2 separate regions of the Homo sapiens genome follow, and region 2 is linked to region 1. Evidence: promoter capture Hi-C in human tissues and cell types (Jung and others, 2019). All regions are on one chromosome and are shown on one strand. The core of a region is centred on a gene start or on the middle of the fragment in contact, and the rest is flanking DNA. Distances in the headings are between cores, read along the strand shown.

Region 1 (6,781 bases), core at 2,871-5,370:
GCAGTCCCAAGGAAGGATGCCTTCCTGTTAACATGATCAGGCAGAGTGCTGATGACCCTGAAGCCCGTCCTAGGCCTCCTATATTCAGGCCAAGGTCAAAGAAACCAACACTGGCAGCACAGTTCAAAGACAAAGATGAGAGCAAGTGGAGCCAGAGTTCAAAGTACAGCAAGCCACAATTTCTCAGAGCCTTGGCATTTACTCACATAATCCTGGCAACCAGGCCCAGTGAAATCTGACTATGTTCTATGAAACACCAACGTGACTACTAAAAGTACCTTTTCCTTGCATTAGCACCAAAGATCTTCTATGTACCCAGGACAAAATGACTGATCCCAGAATGGGTGACCATGTGAATGCCTGCAGAGGGCACCACAAAGACAAGCACTTCAAAATGGAGATATCTAAAGAAACAGGAGGAACTTGTTGCAAATAGATCTGATCAGAAAGAAAAAGGAAGGCTGAGAGGAGGACAGCCCTGAAATCACATATATAACTTGTTGTTACTAGATAAAAAGAATGGAGAAAGGCCGGGTACGGTGGCTCACACCTGTAATCCCAGCACTTTGGGAGGTCGAGATGGGAGGATCATCAGGTCAAGAGATTGAGATCATCCTGGCCAATATGGTGAAACCCCATCTCTACTAAAAATATAAAAATTAGTTGGGCATGGTGGCGGGCACCTGTACTCCCAGCTACTCTGGAGGCTGAGGCAGGAGAATCACTTGAACCTGGGAGGTGGAGTTTGCAGTGAGCTGAGATTGCGCCACTGCACTCCAGCCTGGCGACAGAGTGAGACTATGTATCAAAAAAAAAAAGAAGAATGGAGAAAAGGTTCAATCACCATTATCCACTCTCTGAAGTAACTGCCAGACAAAAAAAAAACAAGTGGTTAATGGCCTGAGGGCCACCTCCTTTGCTATCCAACTGCCTCACTCAACTCAGACCAACAGCAGCAAAGACTTAAGAAAGAGTAGACTGCAAAGGGTTAAAGGAAGCAACAAATCAGAAAGACTGCAAGCCTTCTCTTCACAATGGGGTGGGGATGGATGGCTGCGAAATACATATACGAGTCCAAATGATGGAGGGACACTATCTCCTAGGTCAGGAAAGCCCACATACACCCTCTGGTTCCCTTCTCTTACCTTAATTGCTATGTTGTTGGATTCAGTAGCACCACTAGTAAAAATGATCTCACGAGGATCAGCTCCAATCAGAGATGCTACTTGCTGCAAGCCAAGAAACAGAGATATATAACATCAGTTCCCCAGGCAGAAATAGAGCTGCAGACACAGGTGGGACAGCCCTGGAGCAAGAAGAGCTCCACTGCATTCCACCAAATTGCCCTGGATGAAGGTCTGCACCTACAAGAATCAGATTCTAGTTATATCCCAGATCCCAGGCTCTTTTCCAGCCCAATGCAAAATAATAACTTTTTTTTTTTAATGAACTATTGGCCAGGTGTGGTGGGTCACTCCTGTAACCCCAGCACTTTGGGAGGCCGAGGTGGAAAGATCACCTGAGGTCAGGAGTTCGAGACCAACCTGGCCAACATGGTGAAACTCCATTTCTACTAAGAATACAAAAATATTAGGCCGGGCATGGTGGCTCAAGCCTGTAATCCCAGCACTTTGGGAGGCTGAGGCAGGTGGATCACCTGAGGTCGGGAATTCAAGACCAGCCTGACCAACATGGAGAAACCCCGTCTCTACTAAAAATACAAATTTACCCGGGTGTGGTGGCGCATGCCTGTAATCCCAGCTACTTGGGAGGCTGAGGTAGGAGAACTGCTTGAACCCGGGAGGCAGAGGTTGCAGTGAGCCGAGATCGTGCCACTGCACTGCAGCCTGGGTAACAAGAGCAAAACTCTGTCTCAAATAATAGTAAATAAATAAATAAATAAAAATACAAAAATATTAGCTAGGCATGGTGGCGTGTGCCTGTAATCCCAATTACTTGGGAGGCTGAGGCAGCAGAATCACTTGAACCCGGGAGGCAGAGGTTGCAGTGAGCCAAGATCGTGCGCCACTGCACTCCAGTCTGGGCAACAAATGTGAAAACTCCATCTCATAAAAAAAAAAAAAAAGAACTATTGAGCTCTTACTATTTATAGTACTTCTTACTTACAGATGTTGTGGTAATAAACACTTTATCAGCATTGTCTTATTTAATCCACCCAGTAACCCTACAGAGTAGAAACTACCACAATCTCTGTTTTAAATGAGGAAAATAAGGCTCAAAGAAATTAGATAACTTGCCCAAGTCATTTAGCCAGGAAATATGGGAACCAATCAAATGCCTGCAGTCAAACTCCAAGGCTGCTCTTTGAATCTCTTCCAGAAAGAATCCAAAACCATTTCTACCTCCATGCACACCTACCAAGAAAGAAATGCCTCCCACAGGCCACTGCCCCTCTTTGACCTTAGAACCTCCTAGACTCCTGTGTACTAACCTGACGAGCACGTTCCATGGCTGCCTCACTCTCCCAGCCATAAGCATGTGTCCGGGAGTGTGGGTTCCCATAGTAGTTGATTAGGTAAGGGAGCATGGCATCAAGCACCCGGGGGTCCTGAACACAACAGAACAGATCATTTTCCTTGAGCGCATCGTCAATTCAGGTCCCACTCCACCCCTCAGACCTGGCCACCCTGCCTTAAGACACTCTCAACCCCTCAGGCACTGCCTAGAGGAGGCCTCAAACATTCTTTTGTTCCCACAAAACTACCCACCAAATATCAACCTAATACACTCCCACTCACAACCCATCCCAACTCGGATTGTTCTGCCTCCCCTCAGGTAGTCTACAAACACTGCCTTGTTCCGACATCTGTTTCTGCTGGTGTTTCCATTCCTGCCAGGTAATGTGATCTATAAGGGGCTGGGACAGGACAGGGCCTAGGCAAACACCCCTGGTCACACATTGGTGAAAACTTGCATTAGTCTTTTAACCCGTTTAATACTTGTCCAAGTTCACACAGTTACTAAGTGGCCGTTCTGCTCATTCCAGAGCCCATGCTTTTAACTAATACTATAGAGCCTGCGCTGAAGTGATCTGACCAAGGTCAATTGCTAGTGAGTAGTAAAGCCAATGCCAGTGGCCTCGAATTTAAGCCTCCCGACTCCTCGCTCAGTGCTTTTTCCAGCACACCTTCACGGCTCTCACTTCTCCAGGGATTCAGCCATTTCTTTGCGTGATCACGCCCATCATTTACTTCCTATAAGCAGCCTTGGGAAAAGCTTCATCCTTACCAGAGGAGTTGTAGCTTGCACATCCATATAGAGAGGTCGCAGCACTGGCCCCACCTCCGGGGCAGCGGCTGTATCTGCGGGAACCGCAGACTGAGGAGCACGGTCTCCAACTGATAAAAAATGGAACGGAGTAGCCAAGTAAGACCGAAGGCAACTATGAACGCATGGCATCCAAAGGGCAGAAGGAAAAATCTGGCTGGAGGTGAGATAAGTGTAAGGGATGCTAGGGTCGAATCTCAATGGAAAGAAAACAACACCAGATACCTGACACGCTGTAAAAGGAGGTAAGGGAGAGGGAGAGAGGGTTCCTGGAGGGGGTGTTGAGTTGATATTCAAATGGTATCGTAGGAAGGAAGGCTCTAAAGGGCAAAGACGTTTAGAAGGAACGTGGAGCCAGAGTAGGTGCAGTCCCTTCTGACCGAAGGTAACGGTCTGCACGGGAGCCCGGAGCAGCATCTGTAACTTGGCCAGGAGCGGTCTGAAGGACGCGCCTCCACGGCTCTGGGGGCCTGTCGCGCAGGGTGCGAGGGGTGGTGCGCCGGGGTCAACCGTTCGGGGACCCGCCTAAGAAAGTTTGAGGGATGTGTCATTTGAGAGAAGGGTCAGAGGGTCTGGGCAGCAGGGTGGACAGGAAGGCTCCGGAATATTCAGTTGCGTCGCCGCGCGGAGGGGACAGGTCCGCGCCTCCCGGAGAGCGGGACCCGAGCGTACCGCGCAGGCGCAGCCCCCGAGTGGGCGCCGCGGGCTTCGGCCCTGGAGCCGCTGTCACCGCCACTGCCGCCCGCCTCCAAGCGGCTCGGAGCAGCATGGTCCCGCTGGCAGAGCCCACCTTCCGAAGCCGCTGCAGTCCTGGGCCCCAGGCTCCCGGAAGTGCTGCCCGGCGCTCCGGAAGCGATTCATCGGGCCGCGAGCGCCCTCCCCGTCGTTTTCCGTGAGAGACGTAGAGCTGAGCGACCCAGCCCGCGAGCGAGGTGAGGTAGGCGCCGGGCGACGCGGGGCCGGAACGCGAAGAGGGTGGTGGAGTCGGGCTACCCACTGATTTTCCTTCCCTTACTTCCCCTGAGCCCTTGGGCCCACTTCCCAGCCTACCGCTTCCGTCCCCGCCCGACTCTTGGGCCAGCGCCTGGGCCCACACTTTCCTATCCCCCGCAGATGCCGGTGGCCGTGGGTCCCTACGGACAGTCCCAGCCAAGCTGCTTCGACCGTGTCAAAATGGGCTTCGTGATGGGTTGCGCCGTGGGCATGGCGGCCGGGGCGCTCTTCGGCACCTTTTCCTGTCTCAGGTGAGGGGCGCGGGCGGTGATCTCTGGGCAGGACAACCAGACCTTCCGGCCCTGCCCCATTCGGCCTGGAGCCTGAACACAGCCTCCTTCTTTCGACTTCCCTCTCTGTCCCCTCGCGAGCCAGACTCATTCCAAACCACCTTCAATCTGTAAAGTCAGGTTGGAAGCGTCAGTGCTTAAGAATTTGAGCTTTAGAGTCAAAATGCTTTCTGGCCCTTTTCTTACTGGTTCGGTGACTTTAGGCAAGTTGGAGACTGGGTTTCCTTAAGTGTAGAATGAAGACAGTAGCATCTAACTTATAGAGTTGTAAAAATTCGATCAGCACACTTTGCACAGCATCTGGCACATATTAAGTGCTCAGTAACTAGTTACTACTGTTGCTTTTATTTTTTTTTCCAATTGCGCATAAGGAAAGAAACTCGTTCAGCGGTTTTACTATTCTGGATACAGGATACAGAGATAAAGCAGTTAAACTTTACACTCTAAAGGTCATTTTCACATTTAGAGGCTGTTATTGCCATATCCCTAGATTGTAAATTATCATTTACAGAGCACTTACTCTATGTTAAGCACTGTGCTAAATACTGTAGTTTTCAAAATCCTGTAAATAATGTTGAGATGCCCATTTTACACTTGACACTATGTGTAAATTGTAGAGCTGACTCTTGAACCCCCACCTTACTCCAAAATCATTAACACCAAGAAACTAAAAGACAGATGTCTTTATTGGGTCTTAAACTGCAGGCAACACCAGTCAAAAAAGCTGGTTTCTCTATGTATTTTACACTGCATCTGCTGCCTCCCACAAACTGAAGGCAGTTAATACGACATCCACCAGAAAAATACCCTGGAGACCCAGATGGATCTTTTTCCTTCTCATTACCCACCCCAGGTAGTAAGATATAATATCCAGTAAGTGGAAAATCAGATGTAGGGGTTGCTAGACTAGTGTTAGCAAAAAATTGGAAAGGAGCAGTTAATACTCTTTCTGATATTTTTGTTACCAAATAGCTCCATCTTGGTTTCCTCCTCAGGATCGGAATGCGGGGTCGAGAGCTGATGGGCGGCATTGGGAAAACCATGATGCAGAGTGGCGGCACCTTTGGCACATTCATGGCCATTGGGATGGGCATCCGATGCTAACCATGGTTGCCAACTACATCTGTCCCTTCCCATCAATCCCAGCCCATGTACTAATAAAAGAAAGTCTTTGAGTAGTCAGTGTCCCTCTCTTAAAGGAATATTCTTCTCTCAGCCTATTATCCAGCTTTGCCAAGGATCTTCTGCACTAAAGAGATGGACTAACGTAATGACTAGGGTTAGTATCTCTTTCACAAGGCCTGCCTCTCTTAATCCAAAATTGGAAAACTTGGGAGTGTCTAGTATTTTCCATAGATACTATTCAACTAATTACTCAGTACAACTCTGTGCTTGTTACTACGGTCACCATTTTAAAGGAGAAAAACTACTTCAAAAAATGGATTTATAAGCCGAAATTTCCTCAAGGTCACACATTGCATTATTTCCAAAGCAATGTTCATCCTGAGGTTGGTTGTTTCCTTGGTCGCCCAGGTTGGAGTGCAGTGGCACGATCTCGGCTTACCGCAACTTCTGCCTCCTGTGTTCAAGCGTTTCTCCTGCCTCAGCCTCCCGAGTAGCTGTGATAACAGGCACGTGCCACCATGCCTAGCTAAATTTTGTATTGTTAGGCTGGGCGCGGTGGCTTATGCCTGTAATCCCAGCACTTTGGGAGGCAAAGGCTGGTGGATCACAAGGTCAGGAGATGGAGACCATCTTGGGTAACACGGTGACACCCCGTCTCTACTAAAAATACAAAAACTTAAGCCGGGTGTGTTGACACGCGCCTGTATTCCCAGCTACTCGGGAGGCTGAGGCAGGAGAATCGCTTGAACCCAGAAGGTGGAGGTTGCAGTGAGCTGAGATCGAGCCATTGCACTCCAGCCTGGGCGACAGAGCGAGACTCTGTCTCAAAACAAAAAAAATTTGTATTCTTAGTAGAGACGGGGTTTCACTGTGTTGGCCAGGCTGGTCTCAAACTCTTGACCTCATGATCCACCCGCCTCCGCCTCCCAGTGTTCACATATACAGGCATAAGGCACCACGTCCAGCCCGAGGTTGTTATTTAGATATACCTAGTGGCTTTATCAGAAAAAGCAAAACAGTTCATCCACTGTAAAAAAAAATAGAAACTTCTGTAGCTTCTCAACTGGCTAAATTCCAGATGATTT
Region 2 (6,402 bases), core at 2,143-4,642, 170 kb before region 1:
CAGTTCATTTCCCCACTTCTTGGATCTTGGATCACTTTATGACTTGATCTGACCAATGGAATGCTGCAGAAGTGACACGGTAAGTGCTAGGCACAGTGACTCACACCTGTAATCCCAGCACTTTGGGAGGCCAAGGCAGTAGGATTGCTTGAGCCTAGGAGTTCAAGGCCATCCTGGCCAACATGGCAAGACCCCCTTTCTACAAAAACAAAAATTAAAATTAACTGGGTGTGGTGACATGCATTTATAGTCCCAGCTACTCAGGGGGCTTAGGTGGGAGGATCACTTGAGCCCAGGAGGTCGAGGCTGCAATAAGCCATGATTGTGCCACTCCATTCCAGCCTGGGCAACACAGCAAACTCTTGTCTCAAAAAAAAAAAAAAAAAAAAAAGCGAATTGGAACTGAGGCACCTAAAAAAACTGGGAACCTCAAAATGCTAAACCTTCTGTGAAAAGCTGGGCAAAAAAACAAAAAACAAAAAACAACCCTCACCCTCCGGCATGGGTGAAACAAGGAGGTTTACTTCTTTTATCGAAGTGGGTAAAGAGCCTCCCCCAACAACTCAAAGTCTGGGTTTGCACTTGGCATGAAATTGAATCTAAACTTATACCTCCTACATGATCCAGGGCACTAGGCAAAGAAATCAACTCAAATATTGCCCCTGAGATCTGGAAGGCACCTCTGGCCCATCCCTCCCAGACACTGTGGTTACAGGTAAGACAATCAGGCCAGGATTTTATTCAGTACCAGACTGATCTTACAATTTCCTCCTGCCCTTTACCCACCCAGAAATAGGATTTGTATGGACTCAGCTAGGCTGAGCTTGTGTGAATAGTGAGCTTGTCCACACGCTAGCTGATGGATGACTTCGATTTCTGCTCCTGCACTAGACGTGGGCAGTATTTCCTTGGAGCCCTTGGTCTGATTATCCTCCTTCCAGTGATAGAAACACTTTCCTTGCTATTCTGATCCAAATCCAAAGAGGGTGACCTAGTGGATAAGAGAGGGACATGTGCGTCAGCAGGCAGACTCCTGTCCTCACCCCTGCCTCCCTTCACTCAGCATCTAGGATGACAGGTTGTCCCTGGGAGCTGGGAGGAGACTGGAGCTCACCTCCAGGAAACAGACTCTGGACACTCTCCTAGAGTCACTGAGGATCCCAAAAAAGAGAATGTCAACTCACTTTTCCTCATGGTATTGGAGGAAGAGAGGGGAACCCCCAGGACGTAAGAGAAGGGCATTCCAGGCAAACGGAATGGTGCGAGAGAAGGCATGAGGCAGCTCATGTGTCTGGGGAATTCTAAGAGCCCATTATGGGAGCCTGGGAGACAGGAGGCAAGGGGAGGAGTCAGAACATGTATAGTCTTTTTTTTTTCTGAGATGGAGTCTCGCTCTGTCACCAGGCTGGAGTGCAGTGGCGCAATCTCGGCTAACTGCAACCTCTGCCTCCCGGGTTCAAGCGATTCTTCTACCTCAGCCTCCCGAGTAGCTGGGACTACAGGCATGCCTGGCTATTTTTTGCATTTTTAGTAGAGATGAGGCTACCACCATGCCTGGCTATTTTTTGTATTTTTAGTAGAGATGGAGTTTGACCATATTGGCCAGGCTGGTCTCGAACTCCTGACCTCATGATCCACCCGCCTCAGCCTCCCAAAGTGTTGGGATACAGGCATGAGCCACCACGCTTGGCCTACATGTAGAGTCTTGAAAGCCAGGCAGAAAACTTTAGACTCCATGCTGAAGGCATTGAGGAGCAGGAATTTTAAGAGAAGAAGATACAAGAATCTTTCCTGCCGGGGCACAGTTGTGCAAGACACAGAACAAAGCCTTGGGCCCCAGGGATGACCCTGACCCTGGTAAGACAGCCAGTTGTCCTGGTTGCACCTGGGGAGGAAGGGGGAGGGAACTGACCTGGGGCCCTTCCCACAGCAACCCACAGCCACATCCTACCCCTTTTCCTATTCCCCCTCACCGTGTCTTTGCTATCTTCCACTCCACTAGGGAACCAGACCATCTTCCAAAATCTGAGAAAGAATTGGAGGTGGGGGAGTTTGGGCCACAAGACCTGGGAAAGTCCTGCAAGTGTCCCCAGTAAGCCAATAGAAGGTCTTCCCAGAGCCCCTGCTGTTACTCCCTGCAGTGACCTCCCCTCACCCCCACACAGAGAATGTCTGGGGACACCTCCATCACCTTATCACTTAGAGCATCTGAAGTCCACACCAGGTCAGAGAGCTTCCGCAGTAGCATCTCCAGCTGCATCCAGGAGCCCTGGTCGCTGGCATTCCTGGGATAGATGAAGCATTGTGTGTGGTTTGGTTCCCCACGTCCATCTCAAAGCCCTGGACTTGGGGCCTGCTTCATCTTGGGAAGGGGAGCAGAAACTGATGGAACTGTGGGGCAGGCCTGGCCTTCCTGCTCCCGCCCTCTCCCCAGCACCCACCTGAAAACCACGGGGTATTGGTCGATGTCGTTGCCAAGGCTGGAGCCCTGCGGGATCTGTGGGCGCCCCAACAGCACACAAGTCCCACAATAGAAATCAAAATGGCTCACCGAGAGCCTGGGAATCCCTTTAAACAGCTTCCTCCACAATTTCCCAAGCTCGCTCCCTGAGTTCATGCCCTGGAAACAGCAAGAGGGAGATTGGGGGCTGGGCCCAGGGGAGAGAAAACAGAGCTGGGTGGGTGAGATCTCCATCCAGAGGCTGTGAAGACAGGGCCAAGGGCAGGGATTTGGGCGGAAAGTGGGAGATGGGTGAGGCCCGGAAAGCATGGGGGATATGGCCGGGCCCAGTGTTGACCACTGACCAACCACCAGAGCACAGTGTCAGAGGTCATAGACTCTCTTGTCCTCATCAGGTACCCCATAGTCTTCCTGGAGCACGCATCAAGCCAGTTCCATTCGTCGGCTGTGTGGTGGCAGGAGGAGCAGTTGAGGGTCTCAGAAGGGCAGCCACACTTCCCGGAACTGAACCAAGGGCAGTCGCAATGCTGTGGTACCAAGTACATTCGTTTTTCCTGGGGTGCTGATTCAGGTGTCAGATCCAGATAGGGGGTCATCAGCCAGAGGATGAGCACCCAAAAGACCCACAGGACAAAAATCTGCCAGCGCTTCATGTCTGGCCCAGGCGGTGGCTCCCGTGGTGGGCCGTAGACTGGCTTCTCTACCTGTAAGGATGAGGGGCTGAGGCCACAGACAGCACCAGCTTCCCTCTGTCCTGTCGGCCTCCACAACTCCCCATCCCACCACCTTCCACCTCCTTCCAACCCCTCCTCTCCTGCCTCACTATCCATTTGCTCACCCTCAAAACGGTCTCTGACTGGGCATGGGGTGGAAGAGGCCAGGGCAGAGAGACAGCATGTGGCTAGTCCTGAGAGGGGAAGGAATACCTCAGTGGGGGCCTTGCTGTCATCCCAGTTATATCATAGATCTCATCACAAAGTACACATTGTGACCTCCCTCCTTTAGCCTGCCTGAAAAAAGCCACCACCCTACCCTTTCTCTGACACCGAAATGACCTCCACTGGATGTAAGATTCATGAGGACAGGGGCTGACCTAGTCTCTCTTCTTCACCTCTGCAGCTCTAAGACTTAGAATCATTTAATAAATATTTATGGGATAAATAAACAGGGGTTGAGAGGGAACTTTTTTTTTTTTTTTTGAGATGGAGTTTTTGCTCTGTTGTCCAGGCTGGAGTGCAGTGGCATGATCTTGGCTCACTGCAACTTCCGCCTGCCTGGTTCAAGCGATTCTCATGCCTCAGCCTCCCAAGTAGCTGGGACTACAGGCATGCGCCACCACGCCTGGCTAATTTTTATATTTTTAGTGGAGACAGGGTTTCGCCATATTGGCCAGGCTGGTCTCAAACTCCTGACCTCAAGTGATCCGCCCACCTCAGCCTCCCAAAGTGCTGGAATTACAGGCGTGAACCACCATGCCCAGCCGGGAACTTTATTTTTAAATTATTATTATTATTATTATTATTATTATTATTATTATTATTATTTTGAGACGGAGTTTCACTCTTGTCGCCCCAGCTGGAGTGCAGAGGCACGATCTCGGCTCACTGCACCCTCTACCTCCCGGGTTTAAGTGATTCTCTTGCCTCGGTTTCCCAAGTAGCTGGGATTACAGGTGCCCGCCACCACGCCTGGCTAATTTTTTTGTATTTTTAGTAGAGACGGGGTTTCCCCATGTTGGTCAGACTGATCTCGAACTTCTGACCTCAGGTGATCCGCCCGCCTTGGCCTCCCAAAGTGTTGGGATTACAGGCATGAGCCACTGCACCCCGCCCCAGCCTGGAACTTTAAATATACTTGTGTGTGATGCCCTCTCTGGAGTTGTGTGACATCAACTCAATCCTCTCTTGTAGTCTCTAGACCCCATATCCAACAGCCTACTGAATTGCCACTTAGATGGCTCAGAGACATCTCACCTGAATAAGCCTGAGACTGAACCCAGGATTTTCCCTGTAAACCAACCCTTCCCAAAACTTCTCTGTCTCTTTTGTTTTGTTTGAGACAGAGTCTTGCTCTGTCACCCAGGCTGGAGTGCAGTGGCGCAATCTCAGCTCACTGCAACTTCTGCCTCCTCCGGGGTTCAAGCAATTCTCCTGCCTCTGCCTCCCGAATAGCTGGGATTACAGGTGCGTGCCACCAAGCCCGGCTAATTTTTTGTATTTTTGGTACAAACGGGATTCCACCATGTTGGCCAGGCTGATCTCAAACTCCTGACCTCAGGTAATCTGCCCACCTCGGCCTCCCAAAGTACTGGGATTACAGGCGTGAGCCACTGCACCCAGCTTCAAAACTTCTCTATCTCAACAAATGGTTCCACCACGTACCCAGTTATTGAAACCAGAACTCATGTGTTATTAATTCCTCCTACTCCTATGATACCCAAATTCTTTTTTTTTTTTTTTTTTTAGGACAAAGTCTCACTCTGTCACCCAGGCAGGAGTGCAGTGGCACAATCTTAGCCCACTGTAGCCTCTGCCTCCAAGGTTCAAGCAATCCTTTCACCTCAGCTTGCCAAGATGCTGGGACTACAGAAGTGTGCCACCACGCTAGGCTTATTTATTTATTTAATTTATTTTTGAAACAGAGTCTCACTCTGTCGCCCAGGCTGGAGTGCAGTGGCACAATCTTGGCTCACTGCAACCTCTACCTCCCAGGTTCAAGTGATTCTCATGCCTTAGCCTCCCAGGTAGCTGGGACTACAGGCGCACAACACCACACCTGGCTCATTTTTGTATTTTTTTGGTAGAAACGGGGTTTCACTGTGTTGGCTAGGCTGGTCTCCATCTCCTGGTCTCAAGCAATCCGCCCACCTCGGCCTCCCAAAGTGCTGGAATTACAGGCGTGAGCCACCGAGCCTTGCTGATTTTTTTTTTTAAGTAGAGATGGGGTTTACTGTGCCAGCCCTGTCTCGAACTCAGCTCAAGTGATCCACCCTCCTCGGCCTTTCAAAGTGCTGAGATTACAGGCATAAGCCACTGAGTCTGGCCTCAAATCCATTTTTTAATTCGTTTCTATTTCTAAGTCATCTTCTTCATCTCCACTGCCACCCCCTTAATTCAATTGTAGTCTTGTAAAGATAGTAAAAAAATGAAAATGTTTGAGTTGTTTTTAAAGTTTAAGAAAAAAACAGAACATTTTGGTTTTTAAAAAAAATCAAAACATTTTATTCAATGGGATAAGAACAGTAAAATTCTTCATCTTAACTAGTGGAAAGCTGCACTGGATATTGTATAGCTTTTAAATCAATTCACCCAAATATCTGAGTAAGGTGTGTAGGCTAGTTAATTATATCATACCAACGTCAAGTTCCAGGTTTTGAAAAAGTACCATATGGGCTGGGCGCGGTGGCCCACGCCTGTAATCCCAGCATTTTGGGAGGCAAGGTGGGCAGATCACCTGAGGTCAGGAGTTCGAGACCAGCCTGACCAACATGGAGAAACCCTGTCTCTATTAAAAATACAAAATTAGCCAAGCATGGTGGCGCATGCCTGTAATTCCAGCTACTCGGGAGGCTGAGGCAGGAAAATTGCTTGAACCCGGGAGGCGGAGGTTGCGGTGAGCCGAGATCGCACCACTGAATGTGATTTTAGCTGGGCAAAAAGAGTGAAACTCTGTCTCAAAAAAAGAAAAAGAAAAATTACTATATGTATTATATGGTAAGACACTACCATTAAGAGAAAATGAAGGCCAGGCACAGTGGCTCGTGCCTGTAATCCCAGCACTTTGGGAGGCCAAGGTGGGGTTTGAAGCTTGAAGCCAGGAGTTTGAGACCAGCCTGGGCAACACAGCAAGACTCTACACACACACACACACACACACACACACACACACACACACACACACAAAATTAGCTGGGCTTGGTGGTGTGCGCCTTTATTCCTAGC

Evidence for each region. Contacts are between HindIII fragments. The study calls those that stand out against the background at their distance.
Region 2: a contact is called between the fragment with the promoter of C20orf173 here and the fragment with the promoter of NFS1 in region 1, in 4 of the 25 tissues and cell types used here (adrenal gland, mesenchymal stem cells, pancreas and 1 more).

The regions. Positions count from the first base shown.
Region 1 is chr20:35,695,232-35,702,012 of GRCh38, forward strand. It overlaps NFS1 (NFS1 cysteine desulfurase), which reads right to left and starts at 4,121. Exons shown (of 13, transcript NM_021100.5): 1 at 3,961-4,121; 2 at 3,250-3,359; 3 at 2,453-2,569; 4 at 1,146-1,229. The coding sequence starts at 4,057. It overlaps ROMO1 (reactive oxygen species modulator 1), which reads left to right and starts at 4,174. Exons shown (of 3, transcript NM_080748.3): 1 at 4,174-4,225; 2 at 4,402-4,532; 3 at 5,567-5,749. The coding sequence starts at 4,402. The coding sequence ends at 5,675. It overlaps RBM39 (RNA binding motif protein 39), which reads right to left. Exons shown (of 17, transcript NM_184234.3): 17 at 6,116-6,781. RefSeq lists enhancers at 3,688-4,347, 4,348-5,007, 4,579-4,798 and a silencer at 3,899-4,088. The HindIII fragment of the contact is 14,345 bases long and covers 1-6,781 here.
Region 2 is chr20:35,526,260-35,532,661 of GRCh38, forward strand. C20orf173 (chromosome 20 open reading frame 173) reads right to left here and starts at 3,393. Exons shown (of 6, transcript NM_001145350.2): 1 at 3,300-3,393; 2 at 2,806-3,165; 3 at 2,442-2,620; 4 at 2,192-2,285; 5 at 1,974-2,025; 6 at 720-991. The coding sequence starts at 3,114. The coding sequence ends at 1,999. The HindIII fragment of the contact is 31,043 bases long and covers 1-6,402 here.